Linked DNA regions of Homo sapiens: all the other regions are linked to region 6. Evidence: promoter capture Hi-C in 16 types of primary human blood cells and fetal thymus (Javierre and others, 2016). All regions are on one chromosome and are shown on one strand. Each heading gives the region's core, a stretch centred on a gene start or on the middle of the fragment in contact. The rest is flanking DNA. Distances are from core to core; before and after follow the strand shown.

What was found. Contacts are between HindIII fragments. The CHiCAGO score rates a contact against its expected background, and 5 or more counts as called.
Region 1: a contact is called between a fragment that was not itself captured here and the fragment with the promoter of CRBN in region 6, in 3 of 17 cell types (non-activated CD4 T cells, total CD4 T cells and naive CD4 T cells). The highest score is 6.4, in non-activated CD4 T cells.
Region 2: the fragment with the promoter of SUMF1 here is called in contact with the fragment with the promoter of CRBN in region 6 in 3 of 17 cell types (erythroblasts, naive CD8 T cells and total CD4 T cells); the score reaches 7.7 in erythroblasts.
Region 3: a contact is called between a fragment that was not itself captured here and the fragment with the promoter of CRBN in region 6, in 1 of 17 cell types (total CD8 T cells). The highest score is 6.7, in total CD8 T cells.
Region 4: a contact is called between a fragment that was not itself captured here and the fragment with the promoter of CRBN in region 6, in 16 of 17 cell types (total B cells, naive B cells, total CD8 T cells and 13 more). The highest score is 33.6, in total B cells.
Region 5: a fragment that was not itself captured here is called in contact with the fragment with the promoter of CRBN in region 6 in 5 of 17 cell types (M2 macrophages, naive B cells, monocytes and 2 more); the score reaches 7.9 in M2 macrophages.
Region 7: a fragment that was not itself captured here is called in contact with the fragment with the promoter of CRBN in region 6 in 15 of 17 cell types (M0 macrophages, total B cells, M2 macrophages and 12 more); the score reaches 21.1 in M0 macrophages.

What each region holds. Positions count from the first base shown.
Region 1 is chr3:5,123,996-5,127,489 of GRCh38, forward strand. All of the region lies in intron 1 of ARL8B (ARF like GTPase 8B), which reads left to right. The region is part of intron 1 of LOC124906212 (a long non-coding RNA gene); the gene reads left to right. Among named protein-coding and RNA genes, the nearest start is that of ARL8B, 3.5 kb to the left of the region's middle. RefSeq lists a silencer at 1,749-2,043. The HindIII fragment of the contact is 1,621 bases long and covers 803-2,423 here.
Region 2 is chr3:4,465,389-4,469,194 of GRCh38, forward strand. It overlaps SUMF1 (sulfatase modifying factor 1), which reads right to left and starts at 1,881. Exons shown (of 9, transcript NM_182760.4): 1 at 1,588-1,881. The coding sequence starts at 1,857. It overlaps LOC124909340 (a long non-coding RNA gene), which reads left to right and starts at 1,436. Exons shown (of 2, transcript XR_007095789.1): 1 at 1,436-2,120; 2 at 3,276-3,806. RefSeq lists a silencer at 1,578-1,757 and an enhancer at 1,928-2,107. The HindIII fragment of the contact is 8,038 bases long and covers 1-3,806 here.
Region 3 is chr3:4,499,795-4,503,437 of GRCh38, forward strand. All of the region lies in intron 2 of ITPR1 (inositol 1,4,5-trisphosphate receptor type 1), which reads left to right. Among named protein-coding and RNA genes, the nearest start is that of ITPR1, 8.3 kb to the left of the region's middle. RefSeq lists an enhancer at 3,317-3,406. The HindIII fragment of the contact is 6,282 bases long and covers 1-3,643 here.
Region 4 is chr3:4,298,640-4,302,567 of GRCh38, forward strand. It overlaps a transcript of SUMF1 not described here. Among named protein-coding and RNA genes, the nearest start is that of SETMAR, 2.8 kb to the right of the region's middle. The HindIII fragment of the contact is 551 bases long and covers 1,645-2,195 here.
Region 5 is chr3:4,320,671-4,324,616 of GRCh38, forward strand. It overlaps a transcript of SUMF1 not described here. Among named protein-coding and RNA genes, the nearest start is that of SETMAR, 19 kb to the left of the region's middle. The HindIII fragment of the contact is 5,965 bases long and covers 1-3,946 here.
Region 6 is chr3:3,177,079-3,180,940 of GRCh38, forward strand. CRBN (cereblon) reads right to left here and starts at 2,613. Exons shown (of 11, transcript NM_016302.4): 1 at 2,543-2,613. The coding sequence starts at 2,609. RefSeq lists a silencer at 2,677-2,846. The HindIII fragment of the contact is 7,719 bases long and covers 752-3,862 here.
Region 7 is chr3:4,279,808-4,283,640 of GRCh38, forward strand. It overlaps a transcript of SUMF1 not described here. Among named protein-coding and RNA genes, the nearest start is that of SETMAR, 22 kb to the right of the region's middle. The HindIII fragment of the contact is 1,967 bases long and covers 507-2,473 here.

The DNA of each region.
Region 1 (3,494 bases), core at 363-2,862, 1.9 Mb after region 6:
CCTGCGTAGCTGGGATTACAGACGTCCTCCACCACGCCCGGCTAATTACTTTTAGTAGAGATGGGTTTTGCTTTGTTGCTCAGGCTAGTCTCAAAACTCCTGACCTCATGTGATCCGCCCGACTCGGCCTCTTAAAATGCTGGGATTGCAGGTGTGAGCCACCGCGCCTGGCCTCCTATTGTAATATTATGATTTTTTGCGCTTGGAATGACTATCTTTCCGCAGGAATAGAAGAGTGGAATGTGTATCTAATACCACTAATTTTTTTTTTTTTTTTTTTTTTTTTTTTCTGGTAGAGACAAGATCTTCCTATGTTGCCAGGCCAGCCTTGAACTCCTGGGCTCAAGCGAGCCTCCTGCCTCGGCCTCCCAAAGTGCTGGCATTACAGGCATGAGCCACCGTTCCTGGCCTAATACCACTAAAATTAATGAGGAAACATGAACTTCGGGTTACATATTTATATTAGAATTTTTTTCTTTTCTTTTTTGGAGACAGGGTCTTGAGCTTTCACCCAGACTGGAGTGCAGTGGTGCAGTCGTAGCTCACTGCAGCCTCCAACTCCTGGGCTTATGTGATCTTCCCTGTCTCAGCCTCCCAAGTAGCTGGGACTACAGGCATGTGCTACCACCATGGCTCGCTATTTATTTTTAATTTTTATTTTTTATAAAGACGGGCTCTTGCTATGTTGCCAGGGCTGGTCTTGAGCTCCTGGCCTCAAGCAGTCTTCCTGCCTTGGCCTCCCAGCATACTGGGATTATAAGCCTGCTAGAGCTTTTATATAATATGGAAAAGATGAGGCATAAGCTTGAGTGAAGTTGAGCTCAGTTAACTGTAAATTTTCTCATATCCCCTTGAGATGAGAATTGGAGTCATCTTGTAAAACTTGCTCTTTGACAACATGGAATTAATGTTTCATGTGGATAGGTGTATTAATACAGCCAGTTGTATTTGTTGCAGTTGAGTTGTTATGCTTGGGAACTCTAAAAAGTTGAGCAAATCTTTGAGAAACTTCTTGGTGATTTTTATGCTTCTGTTTTCAGTAGACAGTGTAGCTTAATGAGCATGACCTTTGAAGTCAGACAGCCCTGGATTTGAAATCTGGCTCTGCCGCTTAGCAGCCTTACATCCTCTTTGAGTCCTTACTTTCCCATCTATTAAATGGAGGTAATGATATGTTTCTTACAGAGTTGCTCTAGGGATTAAATGACATGAAAGATGTTAAGTGGCTAGCACTCATACTGGCCCACAGAAGGGGATAGGTAGATGGTAACTGTTGTTATTTGTAATTGGGCGTACCTGTTTAATGCAGGAACGATGGCTTGAAAAATACTGAGAAGGGACTCAACTGGTATCATTTTCTACTTTGAATCACTGTATCTATCCAGATGTGGGCTGCAGTAGTGGATTTATGGATTGGGGAAAGTAATCGCATCATGTGTTCCCCCCTGCCCCGCCCCCACCATTAGATTATTATATTTAACAACAACAAAACTTCTGCAAAGCTGTTGAAGTCAAAGTGAACCAGTGGCTCCACCATTATCTTTTTTTTTTTTTTGAGACGGAGTCCCGCTGTGTTGCCCAGGCTGGAGTGCAGTGGCATGATCTTGGCTCACTGCAACCTCTGCCTCCTGGGTTCAAGCTATTCTCGTGCCTCAGCCTCCCGAGTAGCTGGGACTACAGGCGACTGCCACCATGCCCAGCTAATTTTTGTATTTTTAGTAGAGACGGGGTTTCACCATGTTGGGCAGGCTGTTCTCGAACTCCTGGTCTCAAGTAATATGCCTGCCTTGGTCTCCCAAAATGCTGGGATTACAGGCGTGAGCCACTGTGCCCAGCCCACTGTTATCATTAGACTATTCTTTTTAAAATTGTAATGGTGTGGGTAGCTTCAGTTAAGAAAAAAAAAGTCACAAAGATAAGGTGATGGATGTGTAATTGGCTTGAATTAGTCATTCCACACTGTAAACATGTATCAGAACATCTCATTGTACTCCATAAATGTATACAATTATGATTTGTCAATTAAAAGTAATATTAATTTAAAAAAGAAAAAAGACATCTGGGCTGTAATTGGCTGTGGCTTTTAAGATGCTGAAAGGGACCCCCTCAGTGAATTTCATACTTTTTTTTTTTTTTAACCTCAAGGCTCTAACCTAACCCCTGATTCTTATAGAATATGTTGAGGATGTAGTGATTAAAATCCAAGTTAGTGATTAAAGATGATTTTAGAGATTTTTAGGTAGAAACAATGTGTCCAAAATAGTAAGTTTAGCCTTTTAAAAAATCAGCTGCACTTTTTGTATTGTATATAAAATAGTTGCTTTATAGAATCAGAAATACAGATGTATTGAGTACTATGTGTCACTCTAGAAAGGTGACCATTTACTTATTCACATTTAAGAAGCGACTTCTCAGGTATGAAAAGCTTCAGCTGAAGCCAATTTTCTTTTTGTAAAAATCAACATTTTGTAAACATTAAAATGTCACTACATGTGCCTTAAACATTAAGGAAGATTTAATAGATGTCATTTAACTTACTCAAAAGGTTCATGAGACTGAATTACTATTATATGTAGGGTTTGGTTTGAGTCTAAAAGATAATGCAGCTTAGTTACAGAATGCTCAGACTTAGAATGCCTTTCCTTAGGATTTTAAAACTGAAATGATACCTAATTTAATCCAGTTTTATGTAGAGACACTTGATATATGTAGTGTTCTCTTTTGTTTTGAACATTATAAAAAAGAAACACCCTAGTCTTGTCTTTTCTGATTAGTGTCAAGGAATGAAGTATTTTTTCCATTGCTAACTGTTCTGGCAGTTATTGCACAATAAGTCATGTGCCTATATGTGTAATGTATATTGAGTAATCTTTATTTTTAACTGGGGCTTTTAGATATGTTATAGTTATTAAAAAATATCTAATAGGATTTGCCAAAATAATATAGGATAAATCTTATGGACATTATGTATTTTTTAAATGGAAGTATAAAAATTTGTCTACACTTTTGCACATTGTTGATACCTGAAAGGTTAATCCAAGGGAAAGTTTATTACTGCTGAGAATTAGGAAAAGAAGATATTTGGGAAGACTGTAGAAATATGAACCTAGAATCATTTTTTAAAGAGTTTGTAGAAACCTTGATTAAGTAGTCTAATTTTCCCCTCATTTTTTAGATGTGGCTAGCAGATCCAGTGAGGTTAAGTGGAATTCCAAGGCAACAAAGCTAATTCGTAGCAGAGATAGAATTAGAATCTGGGGCCAGTGTACTTTCTACTTTTCCCACCTCTTTAGATCCAGCTGAGGTTAGAACCATAGAACTGTGGATTGGGAGATCTTAATCCATTAAACATCTTTTTTGTATTTAATTTAATTTAAAAAATCAGCTGCAGTTTTTGTATCGTATATGAAATGTTTGCTTTATAGAATAAGAAATACAGACGTAATGAGTACTGTGTGTCTCTCTAGAGAGAGCATTTTAAATCCAGGCATCTT
Region 2 (3,806 bases), core at 631-3,130, 1.3 Mb after region 6:
GAATCATTCGAACCCAGGAGGTGGAGATTGCAGTGAGCGGAGATCGCGCCACTGCACTCCAGCCTGGTGACAGAGCGAGACTCCGTCTAAAAAAAAAAAAAAGAAAAGAAAAAAGAAAGAGAGATTGATTATCAATTACCAGGCAAGTTAGAGAGGAATTAATATCAAGTATGGCCAATACACACTAAAACAGTAATCAGGAGTCTTCAACACACAAAAGATAAACAGTACTGCAGGACATGCTCTAAGGGTAACAGGAAAAAAAGTAAAGGCCAAAAATTATACAGGATGGAAAAACAATGAGAAGCCCAGGTATCAACCTCCTACACTCTACACCTGAGAGACTAAATCATGGTCCTGACCCCATCACCCTCACAGTCCAGTTGGGGAGAGACATCAGCAGAAAAACATCTTTAATAATTGTTATGTCAGAATAAACACATAACTACTGAGGCAGGATACGGAAATATTGAAGGGGAGAGAAAGAGGAGATCAGGTAAAACCTACTGTGGATGTTACCTCTCACCTAAGTCCTAAATATTGGTCAGGATTAACCCAAAGGAAAGAAAAATGGAATGGGAAAAGGATAGTGTCTGCTAAGTAAACAAGAAGGAGCACTAGTTTAGGAGTCAGAAGACCTGACCTTTAGACCCATAAGTTGTTTCGACAACACATCAATATGCAAAATACCGGGCAGACAGATTGAAGTAACAGTTATTTCTTTCTTTCTTTTTTTTTTTCGAGACGGAGTCTCGCCCTGTCGCCCAGGCTGGAGTGCAGTGGCAAGATCTCGGCTCACTGCAACCTCCGCCTCCCGGGTTCCAGCAATTCTCCTGCCTCAGCCTCCCGAGTAGCTGGGATTACAGGCGCCCGCCACCACGCCCGGCTAATTTTTGTATTTTTAGTAGAGACGGGGTTTCGCCATGTTGGCCAGGCTGGTCTCGAACTCCTGACCTCGTGATCCGCGCGCTTCGGCCTCCCAAAGTGCTGGGATTACAGGCATGTGAGCCACCGCGCCCGGCCAGTAAGTTATTTATATATCCCGGCACCTAACACATACAGGCGCTAAGCAAGACAGATAAATAATAGCAATAAAACAACTACAGTTTGCTTAGCCCTTCCTAAGTGCTAAAGTGCTAAGAATAGCAGGATAAACAATTCAAGCCCTTGTCCTCAAGCAGAGTGTACTCGAGGAGACTACAGATAAGTATACAACAACCCTGGTGAAGATACTGAGACCCAGGATCCTAATTTATTCCGTTAATAAGAGAGGAAATGGTGATTTAAACCATAATTTGATTGCCTTAAAATTATGAGATCCTCATTAAGAGAACAGGTTGGAGGGAGAAAGAAATAGGGGGTAAAGAAGTAACAATAACCCTCAAACCAAACTCCCTAATGGTCAATTAAATGGAGTCTTCCGGTGAGGCACGGAGAAGGAACTCCTCATACGGGAACAGCAGGTGCTCGATTTGGGGTGTGGTTATAACCTTTACTTCCCTTCCTACTAGTGCCTTGCTTTGCCTACTCCAACCCCGTCCAGGAACCGAGCAGCCCCCACCCGCCTCGGAGGAATCGATGGAGCACCTTTGAGTGCGCGAGTTGCCGCTCTCCGGGTACGGGGCCCGGAGCGTTAGCCTCCCGCGAGTATCGGTGAGCGGCTGCCGAACTGCCATGGGCGCCAGGCCGCTGGGGCGTGCCGCAGCCGCAAGAACCCGCAAGGGACCCCGCGCCCGCACCGGTCCCGGCCTCCTGGCTCCCTGCCGCTCCACACAGCAGCGAGAGCAGCAGCAGCAAGAGGACGAGACCCAGCTCAGGGCAACGTCCACACACCAGCCCTAGTGCGGGCGCAGCCATGTTGTCCCGCGGGCCATGTGACCCGGTTGGTCACGTGGCTGAGCCCTCCTTAAAGGGGCAGAATTTTGAGCTGACTTACGAAGTGACCAGGAGAGTTGCTCTTCACCTTTCTTCAGGTACTTCTTTGGCGCTGCTGCTTGCCTGTGCTAACGTCAAAACGCAGCAAAACACAAAACTCCACAAAACTCAAGGCCTTCCACAGACCGTGCACCCCTTTATGATTTCTTGGTTGAAAAATAACAGTCAAATTTGCTGGGCATTTGGTAAGTGCCAGAGTACTATGCTAAGCACTTCACTTTTTAAAATCTCATTTAATCCTCACAAAGACCCAGTAATGGCGCGCTTGTAGTCCCAGCTAGTCGGGAGGCCAAGGCAGGAGAATCGTTTGAACCTGGGAGGCGGAGGTTTCAGTGAGCCCAGATCCCGCCACTGCACTCCAGCCTCGGCGACAGAGCAAGACTCCGTCTCAAAAAAAAAAGAGAAATACAATACGGAATCAGAATCCGTGGGGACTGGACACAGCAATCCAGGGTTTCACAAGCTCTCCAGATGATTCTAATCCACACTTAAGTTTAAGAACCACTGTTCTACAGTTCCGTAATCGAACAAAATGCAAAACCAAAACAAAAAGAAGATGAAGGAGAAACTTACAGATTAAAAAACAACATAGCAGGCCGGGCGCGGTGGCTCAAGCCTGTAATCCCAGCACTTTGGGAGGCCGAGGCGGGTGGATCACGAGGTCAGGAGATCGAGACCATCCTGGCTAACACGGTGAAACCCCATCTCTACTAAAAAATACAAAAAATTAGCCCGGCGTGGTGGCACGCGCCTGTAGTCCCAGCTACTCGGGAGGCTGAGGCAGGAGAATGGCATGAATCCGGGAGGTGGAGCTTGCAGTGAGCCGAGATGGCGCCACCGCACTCCAGCCTGGGGACAGAGCAAGACTCCATCTGAAAAAAAAAAAAAAAAAAAAAACATAGCAGCCAGCTGCAATATGTGAACCTTATCTAAATACTAATTCAAACCTACTGAGTTCAAAATTTTTGAGATAATCAGGGAAATTTAACCACTAAGTCAAATTATAATATTTGATAAAATTAAGGAATTGCTGTAAATTTTGTTTTTAGGCTTTTAGGAGTAATAATGGTATTTGTGGCTATATTTTTTAAAAGAATCCCCTCACTGAGGTACACACACACTCACTGAGGTATACACACACACACACACACACACACACATATATATATATGGATAAAAATATAGGCAGTCAAAGATTTGCTTCCCAAAAAATGGGTAATCAGGGTCTGGCTAAAGATGAAGCATGATTGGCCATGAGTTGATAACTGTCATAGCTGGTTGATGGGCATCTGGGTGTTTATTGCACTATTCTAATGTAGCATCTGTTTGAATTTTTTTAGCATAAAGAAAAGACCAGCCAGGCACCGTGTCTCAAGCCTGTAATCCCAGCACTTTAGGAGGCCGAGGCAGGAGAATCGCTAGAGGCCAGGAGCTTGAGACCAGCCTGGGCAACACAGCAAGACCTTGTCTCTACAAAAAATTAAGAAAATTAACTGGCCATGGTGACGCACACCGGTGGTCCTGGCTACTTCGGAGGCTGAGGCAGGAGGATCACTTGAGCCTGGTAGGCAGAGGCTGCAGTGAGCCATGATTGTGCCACTGCACTCCAGCCTGGGTGACAAAGTGAGACCATCTCTCAAAAAAAAAAAAAAGGCCTTTTCTCCTTGTTGACTATTTTACAGTTTGCCAAGGCCTTTCACACATTTTCTCATTTGAGATTACAACCACTTGGCAAGAAATGTATTATTACTATACTCATTTCAAAATTGATGAAGCTAAAAGGTCAATGCCTTAACCAAGGTTGTATGTATTTACTGTGCATAATATATAGTCAAGGTCTAGGTCAACGGTAATCTTTGTTCGCCTCCTTC
Region 3 (3,643 bases), core at 1,006-3,505, 1.3 Mb after region 6:
AGTTAGGTTCTTTTCTTTTTTAAATTGAGAAGGGGTCTCACTATGTTGCCTCGGCTGGCCTTGGACTCCTGGTCTCAAGCAGTCTTCCTGTGCCAGCCTTCCCAGTAGCTGGGACTCCAGTAAGTCTGCTCTGTAAACTTTGCTTAGGTGGGTGTGAGATGTTGGATGTCTACTCTTGTTATATGAGCACCCCTTGATGCTCACTACCTGAATCCATTAGTTCTCTCGTCAGTGAGAAATGGGCTGGTAAAGTTCCTGAGATTTCGACACAGCCCTTGTTGTCTTTGCTAGCTTTTTTGATTTCTGTATAACAAGATGTTCCAGGCTCATCTTCTCTATTTCTTATCCCAGACCAAGAATCGGCCTTTTCTCCAAGGAGCCTTTGCTCTTTTAAGAGGGAAATTTTGTTTGTTTTGTTTTTTTGAGACAGAGTCTTACTCTGCTGCCCAGGCTGGAGTGCAGTGGCATGATTTCAGCTCACTGCAACTTCTGCCTCTTGGGCTCAAGCTACCCTCTCACCTAATCCTCCTGAGTAGCTGGGACTATGGGCATTCACCACCACACCTGGCTAATCTTTTTTGTTTTTTTGTAGGGACGGGATCTCGCCATGTTGTCCAGGATGCTCTCAAACACCTAGGCTCAAGCAGTGTTCTCACCTTGACCTCCCAAAGTGTTGGGATTACAGGCGTGAGACCATCATGCCTGGCCAAAATGGTATTTAGAGATCTCCACCTAGGGCCAAGTAGGTACTCTTGTCATCCTCATCTTACAGACGAGAAGACAAATTAAAATGAAGAAAACTTAAAACTTGAATTTCCTAGGTGAAAGTATTTCCAAAATGCAATTGACCTATCCTTGCCTTTTTGCAAAGAATTCTGAATATAATCTAAACTTTTTTTAAAAATTGGTTTTGGGTTTAGCCTTAGTGTCCTGAGGCTAAGACATCATTGTTCTCCCCAGATGAGCAGGAATGTTACTCTTGTTCTGTATCCGTGTTTTTCAAACTCTGTGGAAACCCACTAAGAGGTTGTTAAATCAATTTAGTGGGCCTTGATGAACTTTTTATTTTTAGTTTTTGAAACAGGGTCTTGCTCTGTTGCCAAGGCTGGAGTACAGTGACATGATGTTGGCTCACTGCAGCCTCAACCTCCCAGGCACAAGCGATCCTCTCACCTCGGTCTCCTGAGTAGTTGGGACCACCAGCGTGCCCCACCACTCCTGGCTAATTTAAAAAAAAAATTTTTTTTTGTAGAGATTGGGTCTCCCTGTATTGTCCAGGTTGGCCTTGAACTTCTAGGCTCAAACGATCCTCTCGCCTTGGCCTCCCAAAGTGCTGGGACTGGAGGTGTGAGTCACCGGGCCCAGCCAAACTTTTTTTTTTTTTAATGACATGCACTAGAATAGAAAACATGGAAGTGTATTTCGTGGATACTTAAAAAGAACTGTGTATGTTGCAACAAAATTCTTTGTCTCACATACACAATGAACATTGGGTTGTAAGTTCAATAGTTTTCTTACTCTGAGCTGCAGTCAAAAGTTTGAGAAACACTGTACTACATCTTTGCCACTCCAAGTGTGGTCCCCAGACCAGCGTTACTGACATTAACTGGGAACTTGCTAGCAATTGCAGACTCTCAGACCCTACTCCACATTCAATGAATGAGAACCTACATTTTTGCAAGATCCTCAAGTGATTCACACACACGTGAAAATACGAGAAGATATGCATTGGAGGATGCCTGTCCCTGTGCTTTTTCAGTCCTTGTCATTTAGTGGTTCCTTTGCTTTTTCATGGCTAGCTCTCACCTGTTCAGGCTGAAGCTGACCTTTGTACTTTTCCCCTGCAGCCTTATTTTCAGTGAAGTGGAAAGGTAGGCTAATCACCAACCTGAGGTGAGAGTAAGTAGTTTTCACATGATTCCCTCTCCAACAAACATGGGAACTTTGATGCTTACATTTGGGGGAGCTTTTATTCGCTGTTCACATGAAGGCAGAAAGAGACCAGAAGGCACATGTACCCCTACTTAGAGTTGTGAAGTCACTGCTGTTCACCTGCTGTCATGGGACAATGAGGAACTTATGTTTTATCATACTTTCTGACCTGTCCCATCAGCAGAACTTCTGGATGGCTTGATATAATGCGGCTTATCAGAAGAAGATGAACATAAGAAAAATATCACTAGTCTCCAAGTTTCTTGCTGTTCTTTTGCATTTCAGAAGGAGCTTTGTCTGGGAAATGATTTTCTTTTGCAAGAACAGCTTAAAAGCATCCCAAGCACATATTTCTGAACAGAAAAAGCTGATACGACACCCAGACGACGGACATTCATTTGTTTGCCTTGTCGTGTGTGTGTATGTTGTACCTCATGTGTCCCTCCCCACCCCCGTCTGTCCACCTCGCCAGATCCTTCTATTCCTTAGGGCCCAGCCCAAACGCTTCCTCCTCCGGGAAGTTTTTTATGATACTTGAAAATCTGTCATTTGAAACTCCAGGGCCCTAAAACCTATTTTCCTTTTGGGCCTTTTGTGTTTTTTTAACTCATAAGAATACCTGGCACACAGGAAGTGCTTACACAATAAGTAATTTGTATATATGTTTTTTCTCCCTTTGAAGGCTGCTTGGAAAAACTAATTTTTTGTACCCCTCTCTCCTTTTTTTTTTTTTGAGAAGGAATCTCGCTCTGTCACCAGGCTGGAGTGCAGTGGCCTGATCTCAGCTCACTGCAACCTCCGCCTGCCAGGTTCAAGCGATTCTCCTGCCTCAGCCTCCTGAGTAGCTGGGTCTACAGGCATGTGCCACCATGCCTAGCTAATTTTTATATTTTTAGTAGAGATGGGATTTCACCATGTTGGCCAGGATTGTCTCGATCTCTTGACCTCATGACCTGCCCACCTTGGCCTCCCGAAGTGCTGGGATTACAGGCGTGATCCACTGCGCCTGGCCCCTGTACCCCTCTCCTGATTAAATATTTCTTGAACTGGCATCTTTCTTTGAAAAGCCTTACAGCCAGGCATCGTGGCTCACGCCTGTAATCCTAGCACTTTGGGATGCCAAGGTGGGTGGGTCACCTGAGGTCAGGAGTTTGAGACCAGCCTGGCCAACATGGTGAAACCCCATCTCTACTAAAATTACAAAAAAAATTAGCTGGGCATGATGGTGGGCACCTGTAGTCCCAGCTACTTGGGAGGCTGAGGCAGGAGAATTGCTTGAATTCAGGAGGTGGAGGTTGCAGTGAGCTGAGATCGCACCACTGCACTCCAGCCTGGGGGGCAGAGTGAGACTCCATCTCAATAAAAAGAAAAAAAGAAAAGCCCTTTATTGCAGAGGGTGACGTGAGGACCATGTAGAGATATTAAGCATTTCCTTTTGATAGCTTTTGAGGTGTTGTTCAGTACAAATCTCTGCAGGACATTTGTCTTGGGAAACTGTTGAGTATTCATAAAAGGGAGTGGAAAAATCAGGTAGTGAAACCAAGCTGCTTTCAGGTCATATTGGTATTGCCCTGGTGAGCCACAGGATGGGGACTCCGCAGTACCGAGTGTTGACTGCTTCTTGGGTAAGGGGCAAAACATGGAACATCTGTGCATCTGTTTCCTCTTCTGTAGAATAGGTGTAAAAATAAAAATACCTGCTTCGGGTCAT
Region 4 (3,928 bases), core at 670-3,169, 1.1 Mb after region 6:
TCTTACAATTTCTATCACATTCTGTAAGTATATAGTTATTTGTCTGTTACACTGCAAGCTTTTCTAGGGTACCATGTCTTCTTCATGTATACATTCCCCTAATTGGTAAACTGGACCATGCATGTAATCAGTGGTCAAACTTTTCTTAAAATGAATGAACAGCATGTTCTCTGAATATCTGAGAAATTCCCATACTATTCAAAATTCCTGAAGGGTGAAACAAACCTTATCTCCAGCCAATCTGAAATTACTCTTTCCTATCCACATCTTTCTTTTTATTACTTTGCTTCTCCTGTTCCTTCCACCTGGAATGCCTAAATCCTATCCATCATTCATGATCTCCCCTGCTAAAAGTAATCTTTACCAGTTCTAAAGATCCATAGCACTTTACCTAAACCTTCTTATGTTTCTTAATTATACTATAAGCAGCTAATTGTATCATATACATGACTATCTCTTCTTTTAAGGAAGGATAGGTACACAACTATATCTGATAAAATATTTACTAGGCAGCTACCTTAAAATCTATAGCTTCTGAGAGGCAAGGCTTCTAATTCAGGATTCCCCCACACCCTATTAATGGGATATATTCTCCTTGCATTTGAGCCACCCTCTGGGAGAACAAACAGCTCCCAGGCAGCTCTGTGACCTGCTGTGTGGACTGCAAGCACTATTCCCACAGAAGGGGTACACCTGAGGCCTCTCTGCTGGTAGGCTTTGGCTCTTGTCCTATAATCTCAAGTGAAGCTAATGCCAAGTGTGGCCAGTGACAGTCCTGTGAACCCGAATGTTTAGTTGAACCTGAAATGACCCTGTGGTAGATGTTTCAAGTACCATATTATGGGTATTAATGAATTTATACATATCAAATGTTTAAACAATATCTGGGCCAGATGTCGTCGCTTATGCCTGTAATCTCAGCACTTTGGGAGGTGGAGATGGGTGGATCACTTGAGGTCAGGAGTTTGAGACCAGTATGGTCAATTCGGTGAAACCCCAGCTCTACTAAAAATACAAAAAAGTAGCTGGGTGTGGTGGCACACACCTGTAATCCCAGCTCCTCAAGAGGCTGAGGCAGGAAGACTGCTTGAACCCAAGAGGTGGAGGTTGCAGTGAGCCAGGATGGCGCCACTGCACTCCAGCCTGGGTGACAGAGTGAGACTCCACCTCAAAAAATAAAAAATAAAAAAACAGTATCTGGTACATAATAAGTCAATAAATGTTAGCTATTATTTCCCATGGTCAGAAATTTGCAGAGTAGGAATATAAATTTAGTCATGGCTGATTTCAGATACTGTGCCCCTAACTCTTACATTTTGATTCTTTTCTACATAGAATCAATTCCCTATTGATATAATTTGGATATTTGTCCTCATCCAAGCCTCATGTTGAAATCTAATCCCCAGTGTTGGAGGTGGGGCATAGTAGGAGAAGACTGGATCATGGGGGCGGGTTTCTCATTAAACCCATGGGTGCTAAAGCACCATCCCCTCGGTGCTGTCATCACAACAGTGAGTTAATTCTCACAAGATCCGGTCATTTAAAAGTGTGTGTGGCACCTGCCCCAACCCCCACTCTCTCTCACTGCTCCTGCTTTGACCATGTGAGATGCCTGCTTCCTCTTCACCTTCTACTATGACTCAAAGCTTCCTGAGGCCTGCCCAGGAACCGAACAAATGCCAGCACCATACTACCTGTACAGCCTGCAGAGCCATGAGCCAATTAAACCTCTTTTCTTTATAAATTACCTAGCCTCAAGTATTTCTTTACAGCAACACAAGAAAGTTTTTATATCAGATGTGTACTCAAAAAAGTTTTTATATCAGATGTGTACTGCAGTGCAAAATTATGTGATTTTATACATGCTCATGAATAGCACATTTATAAGGCTGATCTTTAATTTCTGTTCTCAAACCTATTAATGCCAGGTATAACTGTTATTATAATTTTATGAAAAAAGGATGATGAACTATGAGTGCAAAGAGTTTCTCCCTTCTGGGATAACTAAGTAGAACATTCTGTAAAGACTTGGAGAAAAAAAAGCAAGTCACTAAAAAATGTTTTGCCCTTGAAGTGGGTGTGAGTGAGAAAAGTATAAAAGACTAGGGAAAGAAAACAGATCATGATATCCCATTGCTTCACTATCCTTTAGTTCCCACCCCACTTTAAAGACACCAAAACTGGAACTCAGAGTAAGCTTGACCTGGAGCTCTAATCAGTAGAAAACAAACATACAGAGACACACACACACACACACTCTAGCTCTCCTTCTCTTTTGGCCCTACATCAAAAGACTAGCATATAAATGTACCAAAATCATTTAAGTTAAAACAAAATGTTTCTCTATCTATCTATCTCCCCACCCTCCACCAATATATATATATATAATTTTTATGAGTTCAATAAGATGGTTTTGCCTGTGCTTACATTAAATAGTTGCAGGGAACATAAGAAATGGCTTATAAAGTAGGAGAACTAATGTAAAGAGGGTAACCAATGCTAAGGGAAACAGGGTAAAGAAAGATACAGAGAAGGGACTACTTGAGCTGAGCAGACAGACAGTCCTGGGTAAAGGCACTGGAGATACAAGAACAATGTGGACAAAGGCCCAGAGGCCCAAGTAGAATGGCTTTTTGAGGGAATGTCAACAGAACAAGGGGTTCCAACAGAGAACAGCAGCAAAAGAGACCAAGGAAATAGGTAAAGTCTGGGTCCTCAAAGGCTCATAAGACAGAATATAGAAGGTAAACTTTGAGAGAAAATGGAGCAAATAAGAATCTAAGCAGCAAAATATAATAACTGGACAAGGATCTTCAAAGGTCATTGTAGCAGCGGCAGTAAGGGTGATTTGGGGATATGGAGAATGACAGACTTAAAGCAAAGAACTTCCAAAGTCCAAGCAAGAAATGAGAGAGCCTAGGACTAAGTGAGAAGAGGCAAAAATGAGAACATGAAGGCAGAATCAACAAGACTTACCCACCACGTCCTTAGCTATATGAGTCTAGTGAAGTGAAGGAATACAGAGTAACTGGTTTGTTGCTTTAGTGGCTCTGTAGATCACAAATTATTTTCCCAGTTAACTTTAAAGAAGAAAAAGCAAGACTGGCAGAAGAAGTCAATTCAGATTATTTTGAGTTTGAGGAGCCTGTAGGACAGAAAACAGAAATGCTCAATCATTAGCTGAATATGCGTAACTGGATTTGAGGAGAAACGTCTGATCTGGGTTGGAGACTGGTGACCTAATCCTTTATATTTGAAGCCATGGGAGTGGATGTTATTAATGAGAAAGTTCAGGGAAGGGGAGCAAAGAAAAAGGTCAAGGGCAGAACCCTGAATCACACCCACTTTTCAGAAACAGTCAGGCAGGAAAACAACAAGAGGATACTAACAAGGAAAGGTCTGCAAGATGGAAACACATTTAGGCCAATGGGACCTCAGAAGCTGCAAGGTCAGAAGGGTTTGTGAACCCAAAATTATCTGAGACAGGTCTCAATTTAGAAAGTTTATTTTCCCAAGCTTAAGAATGCGCCCCCAACATAGCCTCAGGCAGTCCTGATGACATGTGCCCAAGGTGGTTGGGATACAGCTTACTCTCACACATTTTAGGGAGACATAATACATCAATCAATACATGTAAGATTGGTTGGATCTGGAAAGGCAGACAACGAGAAGCGGGTGAGGGGTGGCTTCCAGGTCATAGGTAGATTTAAAGATTTTCTGATTGGCAACTGGTTATTATCTAAAGACCTAAAATCAATAGAAACGAATGTCTGGGTTGCAATAAGAGGTTGTGGATACCAAATTTGATCGTGGAGATGAAGCCTCCAAGAGGTAAATTTCAGAGAACAGATTGTAAATGTTTCTTATCAGACTTAAGGTGTGTGTTGATGTTGATGCTGGCTGGCTTTTCCTGAATTCCAAAAGGAAG
Region 5 (3,946 bases), core at 1,432-3,931, 1.1 Mb after region 6:
GCTGCTGAAGAATAGGCAATAGCCTGTTTTGGTGTGGTGACAACTTTTAATCTCCTCTGGTGATAAATCTTTCCTGGTTGTTTGATGAAATTCCTAGGGAGGAGTCTCAACACAAATGTATTCCTTTTGGAAGAACTTCCCTCAGTCAGAGAAGGGAACTTCAGGAGAGCCCCTCCCTGCACTTATGGGAGTAGGGTGAGAAACAAGAGAAAGCCAGACAGGCCTCCATGGGGGCAGCTTCTAAGGCCTTTCAATTTCCTTTAATTCTAAGTGCTCAGCATGTTAAAGGACCATACGTTGGGGTATCATTTTCTGAGCCTTAACAGGATATAATTCTGATATTAACAACTCTGCTATTGCCTTACATGTATACTGGAATTAAACAAATTGATGGCAGATCGTGGGAGCCAGGTTTCTCACTGTTGGATTGGGAATTTACATTTAAGCAAAGGAAGGATGATCCATGTGGTAATGGATCAATTGGAGACATCAGCATGAACTCACATTTAGCTTAGTATAGATACAGAAGGTTACATATAGAAATATTTCTAGATTACAGTTAGTATATTACAGTTAGTATGCACACATATATTTCCTTTCTTTGTCAGCTCAGACAGCCTAGAAGCAATGATGCTCCAGTAGCAAGGAGCACATTTAGCACCCAGATCTTGATTTTTATACCATTCTCCAACAACAAAAAAACAGGGTTCTTTGGAGAAATGGCTAATTCTGCTACTAAAGAAGGAAATCAACAAGCTGAGACTGGAGCATCTTGTAGTGCCAGAAAGTAAGGAAATGCTAAAAAAAAAAAAAAAAAAAAAAAGAAAAAGAAAGAAACCTACATTGATGGGGGTGTCAAAGGAGTATAGAAACAAATTGTAAAAGCTCCCAGTGACCAAATCTGGAATAATTTGAGCAAGATAATAAATAAAGTAGTACTGGATTATAAAACAAAATATAAAAATCTGAGTCCATACTGATATAAATAAATGATTGAATCAATAAATAAATGGGGTAAAGACAAATCTAACTTTGCATAAGAATTCTAAATAACTTATGTAGCTATTTCTGCCCACGAAAAGGGGGACCATAAATTCCTACTCCTTTAGTGTAAGCTATACATAGTGACTTCCTCCCAAAGAGTGTAGAATGGAAAGTTGAGGGTGGAGGAAAGGGAGGGGAGCAGAGTAACTTTACTCTGGGGAAACTTGACAAATGACCTCAGCTAGGTGATCAAGGTCAATATGAACAGTCATAAATCATGTTGGTAGTATATGCCATTGACAGGATGTGATAAAGATGGTACATTAACTCTGTGGTCTTGCTCCCCAAACCCATAACCCAAGACTAATCATGAGGAAAAGAATCAGATAAATTTAAATACAGGGTCATCTACAAAATACTTGAACATTATTCCTCAAGGTCTTGGAAAACAAGAAAAGTCTAAGAAATTGTCACAACCAAGAGGAGTCAAAGAAGACATGATATGTAACTGTAATGTGGTGTCCTGGATGAGATACTAGAACCAAAACAGACAGGTAAAACTAAAAATCTGAATCAACTATGGTCTTTAGTTAATGATGTATCAATATTGGTTCTTAATTGTAACAAATGTATCATAATGTAATGATATGTATAATATCATAGGTATGTATCAATACATAATAATATATATTGATATGTATAATAATGTAATATAAATGTACCATAACTAATGTTAGTAATAGGGGAAACTGGCTATGGGATATATAGGACCTTTCTGTATTATCTTCTCAATTTTTATGAAAATCTAAAACTATTCCATGAAAGTCTACGGTAAATGAAAATGTGCCAATGCCAGAAATGGTGGTGCATGCCTGCATGCCTTCAGTCCAAGCTACTTAGGGGTCTGAAGCAGGAGGATCCCTTGACCCTAGGAGCTCAAGGCTGCAGTGAGCTATGATCCTACCACTGCACTTCAGCCTGGGTGAAAGAGGGAGACCTGCCTATAAAAAAAAAAAAAGAAAGAAAAAAGACAGACAATTATAAGCATTGACAAGGATGTGGAGAAAGTGGAAGCCTCATATATTGGTTGGTTGGTTGCAAAATTGTGCAACTACTCTAAAGCAGTTTGGCAGTTTCTCAAAGCTCACATACAATTACCACATGTCCCAGTAACTCCCCTGGCATGGATCCAATAGAATTGAAAACATGTCTACAAAAAGTGTATGCACATCCAGCCTGGATGACACAGCAAGATGCTGTCTTAAAAAAAAGTATGCACAAATGTTCATATAGCATTATTCATAACAACAAAAAAGTGGACACAACCCAAATATTCATTAGCCGATGAATGAATAAACAAAATATAGTATCCATACAGTGAAATATTATTTAGCCATAAAAGTATGCACAAATATTCATATAACGTTATTCATAATAGCAAAAAAAAGTAGGCACAACCCAAATATCCATTAGCTGATGGATGAATAAACAACATGTAGTATCCATGCAATGGAATATTGTTTGGTCATAATATTATTTGGCCATTCCATAAAAAGGAATGAAATACCAAAAAATGCCCTTGATATGGATGACCCTTGAAAACATTATGTTAAGTGACAGAAACCGGACACAACAGGTCACATTTGTGGTATTCTGTTTACATGAACTATCTGGAATAGGCAACTCCATACAGATACAAAGTAGATTAGTGGTTGCCAGGGCCGGGAGCAGGAAGGAGTATAGGGATTGACTGCTAACACCAACAAGTACATGGTTTCTTTTGGGGGTAATGCAACATTCTAGAATTAGTTGTGATGGTTGCACAACTTGTGACTACACTAAAAAGCATTTTAATTAGGTGGATTTTATGGTATGTGAATTGTATCTCCTTAAAGATATTATAAGAAAAAGAAGAAAAGGAAGGAAGAGGAGAAAGAGAAGGAGGAGCAGCAGAAGAATGAGGAGGAGGACAACAACCACCTGGTACCTCTGGTTTAGAAACTGGTAACTTGTGACTCTGAACATTTGTTTCTGGGAAGAATGCTTTAGGCCCCAGGAAAATGCTACTCCACTTACTTTCTGTCCTCAAAAACAAAACATAACTGTGCCTAATGCTCTGGGTTGGGCCATTACCACCATCAGAGAGTGACACAGCTTTGGGGTGCAGGGAGAATGTGGACAGAAGTGCTCAGTCAGATAGATAAGAGATAGATTAATTAACCTGACAGCTCTTCCTCTCAGCATAAATGTAACAGATTCATGAATAACAATGTACAGTTTTCAATTCCTATTACTTAGAATTCCAATTCCTATTACTTTTAAATCTGTGTACGTGTAAGTCTAGAAATTTGATACTGGTTCTTTATATTACTGTATAGATTTAGCAGATGATGAAAAAGACAGCATAAGTGATAGCTTATGTGATGAAATTAAGATTTTTTGTTTTCTGCAATAATAATTTACCAAATGTGGCCCCATTAGAATGTTTGAACATGATACATACATTTCATGGTTTGTTTTCAACTCTGTCTCAGCAGAGTGACGCTTTCTCAAATTGAAATTAATTAAAAAAAAAATGTCAAAGACCTACACTGACTGAAGAAAGATGGCCTCATTTGGTATCATTGTTAATAGAATACCAACTATGTGAAAATCTTTTTTATAATATAGACCAAAAAGTGACTGAGGCAGGTCTCAATCAATGAGAGGTTTATTTTGCCAAGGTTGAGGATGTGCCAAGGAAAACCATAAATCACAAGAGCATCTGTGACCTATGAGTTTTCTAAAGAGGATTTCGTGAACTTGAATATTTAAAGGGGAAAACGTAAGCAGGAGAGGGGACAAAAAGAGGTGGGAGTGAGCATGAGCAGTGAGGTAGATGGTTAGATTCTTGTGAGGCTCTGATTAGCTTCACTAAATCTACATTTTACATGTGAAAAGTGGGAGGAGAGGAAAAAGTCGA
Region 6 (3,862 bases), core at 1,363-3,862:
ATCCTACAATGCACGAGACAATCCCACCCAAAGAATTCTCCAGCCCAAAAGTCCAGTGCTGAGGTTGGGAGACCCTGGCCTAGACTAACAATAAAGAATTACTGAATCTCATTTCTCACCTCCCAGTTCATGTATTTTTAAATGCCCCAAATAAACTTCTAAATCGATAAAATGTCATTACGAAATAATCATTTGTTTTCCTTTGCATATCATTATTTAAGTCAAACCACCTCTAGCCAGGCCCCTGACAGAAAATAAAAATGATTTTCAATATGGTAACTGCCTTGGACTTTCTATTTATTATTACAACTTCCTAGATATAAAACTTTGTCAAAAACAGAATTACTTCAACTTATATGTAAATAGCCAATGGTCTAACACTTCATACAAATTTTCCTTGGAACATGTAAGTTTCACTGAGATAAAAAAAGAGCTATCTAAATGGATGACAAAAATATTCTGCATCAAATTGTTTGTATTTCCAACTCTGACAGTATGGCTATCACTTGGCATGCAGCACAACCCACTTTATTGCTCTACTACAGAAAGTTTAAAAGATAAACTATTAGCTCAAAGGCTGGAATTAATATTGTTAAAAATTTACATTTTAACTGTTCTGACTCCTAGTCTCTAAATAATTTCTTTAGTAACCTTTTTTTCATAAATATGGCTAAAAACCACTTTCCCCTACTCAGTTATGTTTATTAATGTTTCATTTGCCTAGGATAAACTCTTCACATCTCAAATATAAAGCTTTTTGTTGGAACTTAGAGGATTTACTCTTCAGAACAACTCGTACTACATGGAATTATGGAAAGCCCAGTGTTTCCCTACAAATAAAATTTACGTAATTTGGAGAGGCATTATTGCTATATCTACACCATCTCTGGGCCCTCTCCCGACGCTTTTCTGAAAAACAAAAAACAAAACAAAACAAACAAAAAAAAAACAAACAAAAAACCACGCTGACTGTTCAGAGCTATCAGTGAAGTCTGATGACTCATCTCATGCAGAGGCACGATGTGAATGTCGACAGAAGATCAGTATCCTCCCTCTTCTATTCACCATTCTCCCTGAAACACCGGATTTGGCACAGAGAGTAGGGCTAATGTCTCTGAAAAAATAGCTCAGCTTTCCATCAAAGGCTGGCACACTTACCCTTGTGTCAACTCAGCTAGAATGGCTTCGAGAACAACCAGTGACTATGGTTTATTTTTACAGAAAAGTTCTCTCCTATATGGTGGGCACGCACTCAGTCTCTTCCTCTTTTAATCCATGCTGCTACCAGTGGACAAATTAATCTTCCAAGCATAGATTTCTTTAGGCAATTACCTGAAACCTAAAACTGTTTCTTGGCAATCCACAGGAAAAACCCAAACCCACTGGCAAGAGATGCCAGTTTCCCAGCAACTTAGACCCAATATACCTCCTAGGCCTTATGTCCCACAACCATATCCTAAATATGTGCTTTTAGATGTCTCCTGATCTACCTGAAAGGCTTTTTCCCAAATCCTCTGACCCTTAAACAACCTCTGCCTCTGAAGAGCCACAACAGCATTCATTTATCTGGCCCTAAATCAACCGCCTCTGCAGTTGATTTACGTTTAGTTATATTCTCAGCAGCCCCGCCTAGACAGTAAACCTCAATTATCAGATTGTGTATTACCTCTCGTTTCATCTCCACAACACCTAACATACTTGTCATATAACGAAGGGACTCAAGTAATACTTTCAAGTTTGGATGATACACCTTTTGGAAAGCATCTCTTGAAAGGCATTCCATGAAAAGTTTATGCAATATTCCATGCATTTTTTTTTTTGTTCAGTATTTCAACACAAGGCCAAAGTCTAAACATTTCACACAACATACAGGAAAAAGAAAAACTAAGTATCTCTGATTAAGCATAATCGTACATGCCTGAGAAAGACCGATAGTAAGAAAAACAAAACAGAGAAGTGGTTTAGAGATATAATGACAGACACACCCGGGTTGGAATCCTGACTCTGCTGTGTGACCTTGGGCAAGTCATTGAACTAATCTGCAAATCCAATACTCGCTTATCAAATCGGAAACTGAAAACTGATGTGGGAAGGATTAAAAGGCGACATGCATGCAAAGCGTTAACTGCACGGCTCGTAACATGGTAAGTGCTTAGTACATGTTAGCTGTCACTCTTATTAAAAGGAAGGAGACCAGCAAAAGTAACCGCTGTGAATCTGACCCGGTCCTCTAGTTTCAGAGCATTTCCTAGGAGCTAAACTCAGAACACAAGGAGGATGGAGAGGATGGGTTTCCTGTTCTTAATAGCAAATGCTCCCCCCGACACCCTGGCTCACGGCTCGGGGCAACAGAGCAGCGAAGAAAGCGCCGCGACTCCATCGCTGGCCGAGGGCCGACGTGAAGCAGCTTTCCGGTGCGGCCCTGCTGGGCTGGCTCGCCAGGCTTGGCGCCCCCACGCCCGCCTCCCAGGCCCAGCTGCACCGCTAGCGGCTCCGAGCCTCGCCCCACTCCCGACTACAGGGAACTACTCCGGGCGGTTACCAGGCAGGAGCGGCAGGTGGTTGCCCATGTTGTGCGCAGCGTCCTGCTGATCTCCTTCGCCGGCCATGTCTGTTTACCCGCAAAGGAGGCTGGGACAGGGCGGTGCCGAAGACTCCGAGGGAGGGCCCGTGTCGCGCGGCTGCCGCGCACCGGGGCCACAGCGCCCCCTGGCGGCCCCAGGGGAGCAGACGGCGGCGCGTACCCAAGCCTGAAAGTGATGGCCTAGGCGGGAGGGACAATTACAGGCCTGCGCTCCGTCCCGGGGACAGAACGCCGTCCCCTGCCATCCACGGCTGAGTGCCCGGCGTACACGCTGCAGAGCCCTCACTTTGTTCCAGCCCTTAGCATGACTTATTTAATCCTGATATTTTGCATATGGAGAAACTGAGGCTGAGAGCCTTTAGTCTCCACCTTGTTTTTAAACGAAGGGGGCAGGGAGCAAATAGAAACCTGTTCATGCAGCATTAGTTTCAATTCTTAAAATAAGAAGCATATATGTGAAGGCTGGGGAAATCCATCAGTTATTCCGAGGGTGGTTGAATTATTGCTGATTTTCTTCAGTAGTTTCAATGTATGTACATACAACTTCAATAACTTCAGTAGTTTCCATATATGTACATTACATTCCAAAATTAACAAGTATTAATCAGAAACATACTTGAAATGATGATTGCACAGAATGGAAAACGCCTTATAATTGGTAAATAAAATTGTCTGAATATAAACTAGCCTACTCATTATGACTTCAGCTATGTAAAAACAAGTCACTGTGGCAAAAAAGAAAGACTATGTAAAAAATGAAGATAATTCTGTTATAATGGTGGAGTTGTGACTGGTAAGATATTTGTTTTGGAGGGAGGACAAAAGTTTTCGTAGTGTATTTCAGTATCACTTTTTCAGCGAGGAAGGAAAACTGAAAAATCCTTAAATGAAATACAACATCTAAACATGGTAGTGGTGGTGGTGGGCGGAGGCTGAGAGGAAGCAGCAGCATTGCTCAACAGAAAAGTCATGGATCTGAGATTTGAAAAAATGATTTCAGAAAATTTGCCTCCCTGATAAGTTACAAGCAGAAAACTCCCTTGTGACAGAGGCTTGTGAATCATTCCTGTGTCATTTTGCCTCCTGTCTCCGAATCAGTCTGTGGTCTTCGTCAAATCACTTATGGCTGCGGGCCTCAATTCGCCCATTTGCAAAATAAGAACGAACCAAATAGTGTCGCCTATTTGTTCCAGTTAATAATGTCTGCAACATGAATCATAGCATCACCTTTTACGATGAGGTTAATAACAATTACATATACTACGTAATGATTTAACG
Region 7 (3,833 bases), core at 240-2,739, 1.1 Mb after region 6:
CTAAAATTATCAACTTTAGGATGCATAAAAATTAGTGTACCAGATGGCATACACACCAAAAAACTGCATGTACTATATCTTATGAGACACTTTTTAAAGATTTTTAAATTTAATTTTGGCTATATAGTCAAGCTAACTTTAAAGAATCCTTAAAGCTGTATTCTTTAAAGGATGTGACTCAACTTTAGTAAAAACATATACATAAGAGATGACACTAGCCATCTGTAAGAAGACAACAATTCCAGTTTTGAAAACCACTAAGACAGTAGATTTTAAGTGTTCTTACCACACACAAAAAAGATGTTATGTGAGGTAGTACAGATGTTAATTAGTTCTCTTAAGCCATTCCACAATGTATACATATCTTAAAGCATCATGTTGTACATAATATATAGAATTTTTGTCAATTAAAAATTAAAATGTTTTAAAAAATTCCAAGAGGCATTTTATAAATGCACTACAAATGTAACCAAAGATGTAATCAAGAACACCCCGGGGTCCTAAAAAGCTTTAGCCTACTCCATTTAACTTAGGTTTGCTTGGTGCATACTGTATGTTGTGGACCACTGGGAATTCAAAGATGAAAAGTGCAATGGCTCTCTTCAAGTAGCTCACGGTCTAGAGGTACTGAACTTGAAGTACCTTGACTTAAAATTTTTTTTATAAAGCCAGATAATCTAATAGAGGAAAAAAAAAACACAGAGGCAGGAACCCCTTATGTGAGAGGAAGGCTTTATAGAGAAGGTAGCTTTGAGATGAAAATTTAAAAGGTTTGCGTATCAGTTTCCTGGGGCTGTCCTAACAACACGCCACAAACTGAGAAGTTTAAACAACAGAAATTTACCGTCTAACTATTCTGGAGGTTAGAAGTCCAACATCAAGGTGCGTGCTGGGCTCTGTTCCCTCTGAGGGTGGCTAGAGAAGAGCCTGTTCCAGGCCTCCCTCCTAGTGTCTGGTAGTTCCTTGGATTATGGCAGTATAACTCCAATCTTCAAATGGCATTCACCGTGTGTGTGTGTGTGTGTGTGTGTGTGTGTGTGTGTGTGTGTGTGTGTGTGTGTGTGTTCTGTGTCCAAACTTCTTTTTTTGATAAGGGCACAGTCATGTTGGATTAGGGCCCATCCTAATAATTTCATCTTAACCTGATCACCTGCAAAGACCCTATTTCCAAATAAGGTCACATTCACAAGTACTAGGAGTTAGGACTTCAACATCTTTGAGTGGGGTAACAGTGGGGGTCGGGGGGCCACAAATCAATCCATAACAGCTTGTCAAATGGAAAAGCAGGGACTGGGACTTCTGGGCGAGGAGAAAACCATATACAATGAAACTGCACAGATAAGAAGAGCATGGTGAAGAGTATAACATGCCCTTTGACGGAGCTCCTCTGTGCAGCTGATACAAGCCACAGAAAGACCACTCTACTTGCACTGTGAAGAAGAGATGTACAGGAGCTATATTACAGACAAGGAGACTCTTTGTGATGTTATTATAGCTTTGATTCAGGGAAGGGATGGTGGAGAGGGTTGATTTCACTGTGAGAGAGAGAGAAAAAGCCAGAGAAAAGGAAAGAGTAACTGAGATATATTGATCATCCACATTGGCTACTAGCTGTAAGTTACCTCATTTAGTCCTCATAACAATCCTATGCCATAGATATTGATAATTCCATTTTTACAGGTAAAGTAACTGAGATTCTCAAGTTTAATCCAAGGCCACACACTTAATAAGTAGCAGAACCAGCGCTCTGAGACTTGCCTGACCAAAAAAGCCAAAAAATCTCAGAGAGATGTTTACAGTTCAGGGATGAGAGAAAATAATTAGAAGAAGTAACAATTAGAAAGGTTTAGAATAATTTACATATTAAACAAACTTTTGGGGGAAAAAACAGGGGGAAAGGAAAATAAATATATGTATTTACATGAAACAATTGGAAGAGTTTACAATAAACCAATAAAAGTTATTACCTGGAGGGTAGAGTGGAAGGAGTACAGAAAGAAGAAGAAAAGTGGGAACAGGAGTGGAAATGAGACTCCTTAACACATATTTTTATATTCTTTTGAGTTTTTAATCCATGTGAACATACTTCCTCTTCAAAAAAACAACAAAAAAGATTTCAGAAAGAAAGACAAATTCAGTAAAATAGCAAAGACAAGCCAGAATGAAGAAGATTGTATAGGTATTTAGAAGCTGGCTTAAGTCTTTTGGTAAAAACTTACAACCTTAATTTTATTTAACATGACTGATTTGTCATTATCGTGATACATTTAATGTTGTCTAGAGCAAAGAGAAAACATCTTTAAAGACTCTGTGTGGGTTGAAAAGACAGTTAAATCCAGTAACAATGTAGGAAAAATTAGAATCAGTAATCCCTATTATCATTTTGTTAAACGTCTAATCTCCATGAAACATAAAATCAATGTACTTATCCAGCTGCAGAAAGAAATCACATTCAGATGAATACAAGGGAAAAAGCTTTATTGCAGTTTTACCAGAAGAAATACCTGGTTGCTAATAAAATACAGTACTAAGAATTTTGAATTTTGCCTTTTAAAGGGAAGAAATATACAGAGGGAAAGGATGTGGAGTTAATACACTGCTCTTCTTAATTTCTACAATAATTAGTTAGAATAAAAATCAATTCACACATACCTTCTACAATTTCTGTACTCCCTAATTCTTGCCTTATCAGAGCAAAGAAGTAACTACTTGGTACTGCGAGTGGGGAAAAATCCTTATGGTAACATGAATGGCTCTTAGACCACAGTTATTACAATTTCAACCCTTTTACACTAAATGGCACTTTCAGTGAAAATAACGATACCAGCGCAAGAGTGGAAAGTGGGAGAACTGTTGCTCAGTCAATTCTTATTTAGAGAAAGATTTTAAAAGAAAATCTTATTTTGAAACTTAAAAGTCATAAAACACTCTCTTAAAAGAAGGTATCTTGTTTTTGTCCTGCGTCAATCACATGTTCCTTTCTCCCATGACTGCCTTTGGAGACTTAATATCTCCAAACATACTACCAAACAAGAACTCCAAAAATGTCTTCATTGATTGACTACTCTGCTCAGTGAAAAATTATTTTTTTATTGGAAATGGCTGTCAGAGCTATTTTTATTGCTCTCCTAAAGGCTCAATCTGTAATCATGTACTACACTTCTCTACTCTGAGAACAAAATGAATTAGATGACTGCCTCTCTTTTTCAGACTGCATATTATGCCATTTTAGGAGCTCAGACTGTGGACCTGAATGGAATTGATGACCTGCATTTGGTGCCTCTCCCTTGAGGATCTTTAGACTCTTAGAGATAGAGAAATAGCTAAGGAGAGAAGGCTTGCAAACCTGCTACAAGTTTGTTCCTTTTCGTTCCAATCTCTTGAAGAAAACCACCCCCACTTTCAACTTCTAGAGGCAACAATGAAGCACAGAAAACCTTGTGAAAAGGAATTTTCAAATGCCCATTTGTATTAAAAGAAACAAGTATCATTTCATCCTTTTATTGTTGTTAAAAAAGAACTATACGTTCAACTAGAACTATTTGGCAGTCTGTGGGATAAACTTAGGGGTCCTTAATGTTAGCCTGTCTCCAAATATTAATACGTTCTCCAACCCATGTGAAATTTCATTAAATTTCATTAAGTATTTGCCTTTTCTTGGTTAAAGCTTTGACTCCAGGAACCCTTTGTTAAAATTCAAATAAGAGCAAAAGATTAACAAATTACAATAACCTAAGTAACGAATACCTTTGGAGGGATCAGTGCATGCCTTATTTTCCCACATGGTAACAGAGAAAATGGCCAACAGTATATATAGGCTTTAATAAAGGAAA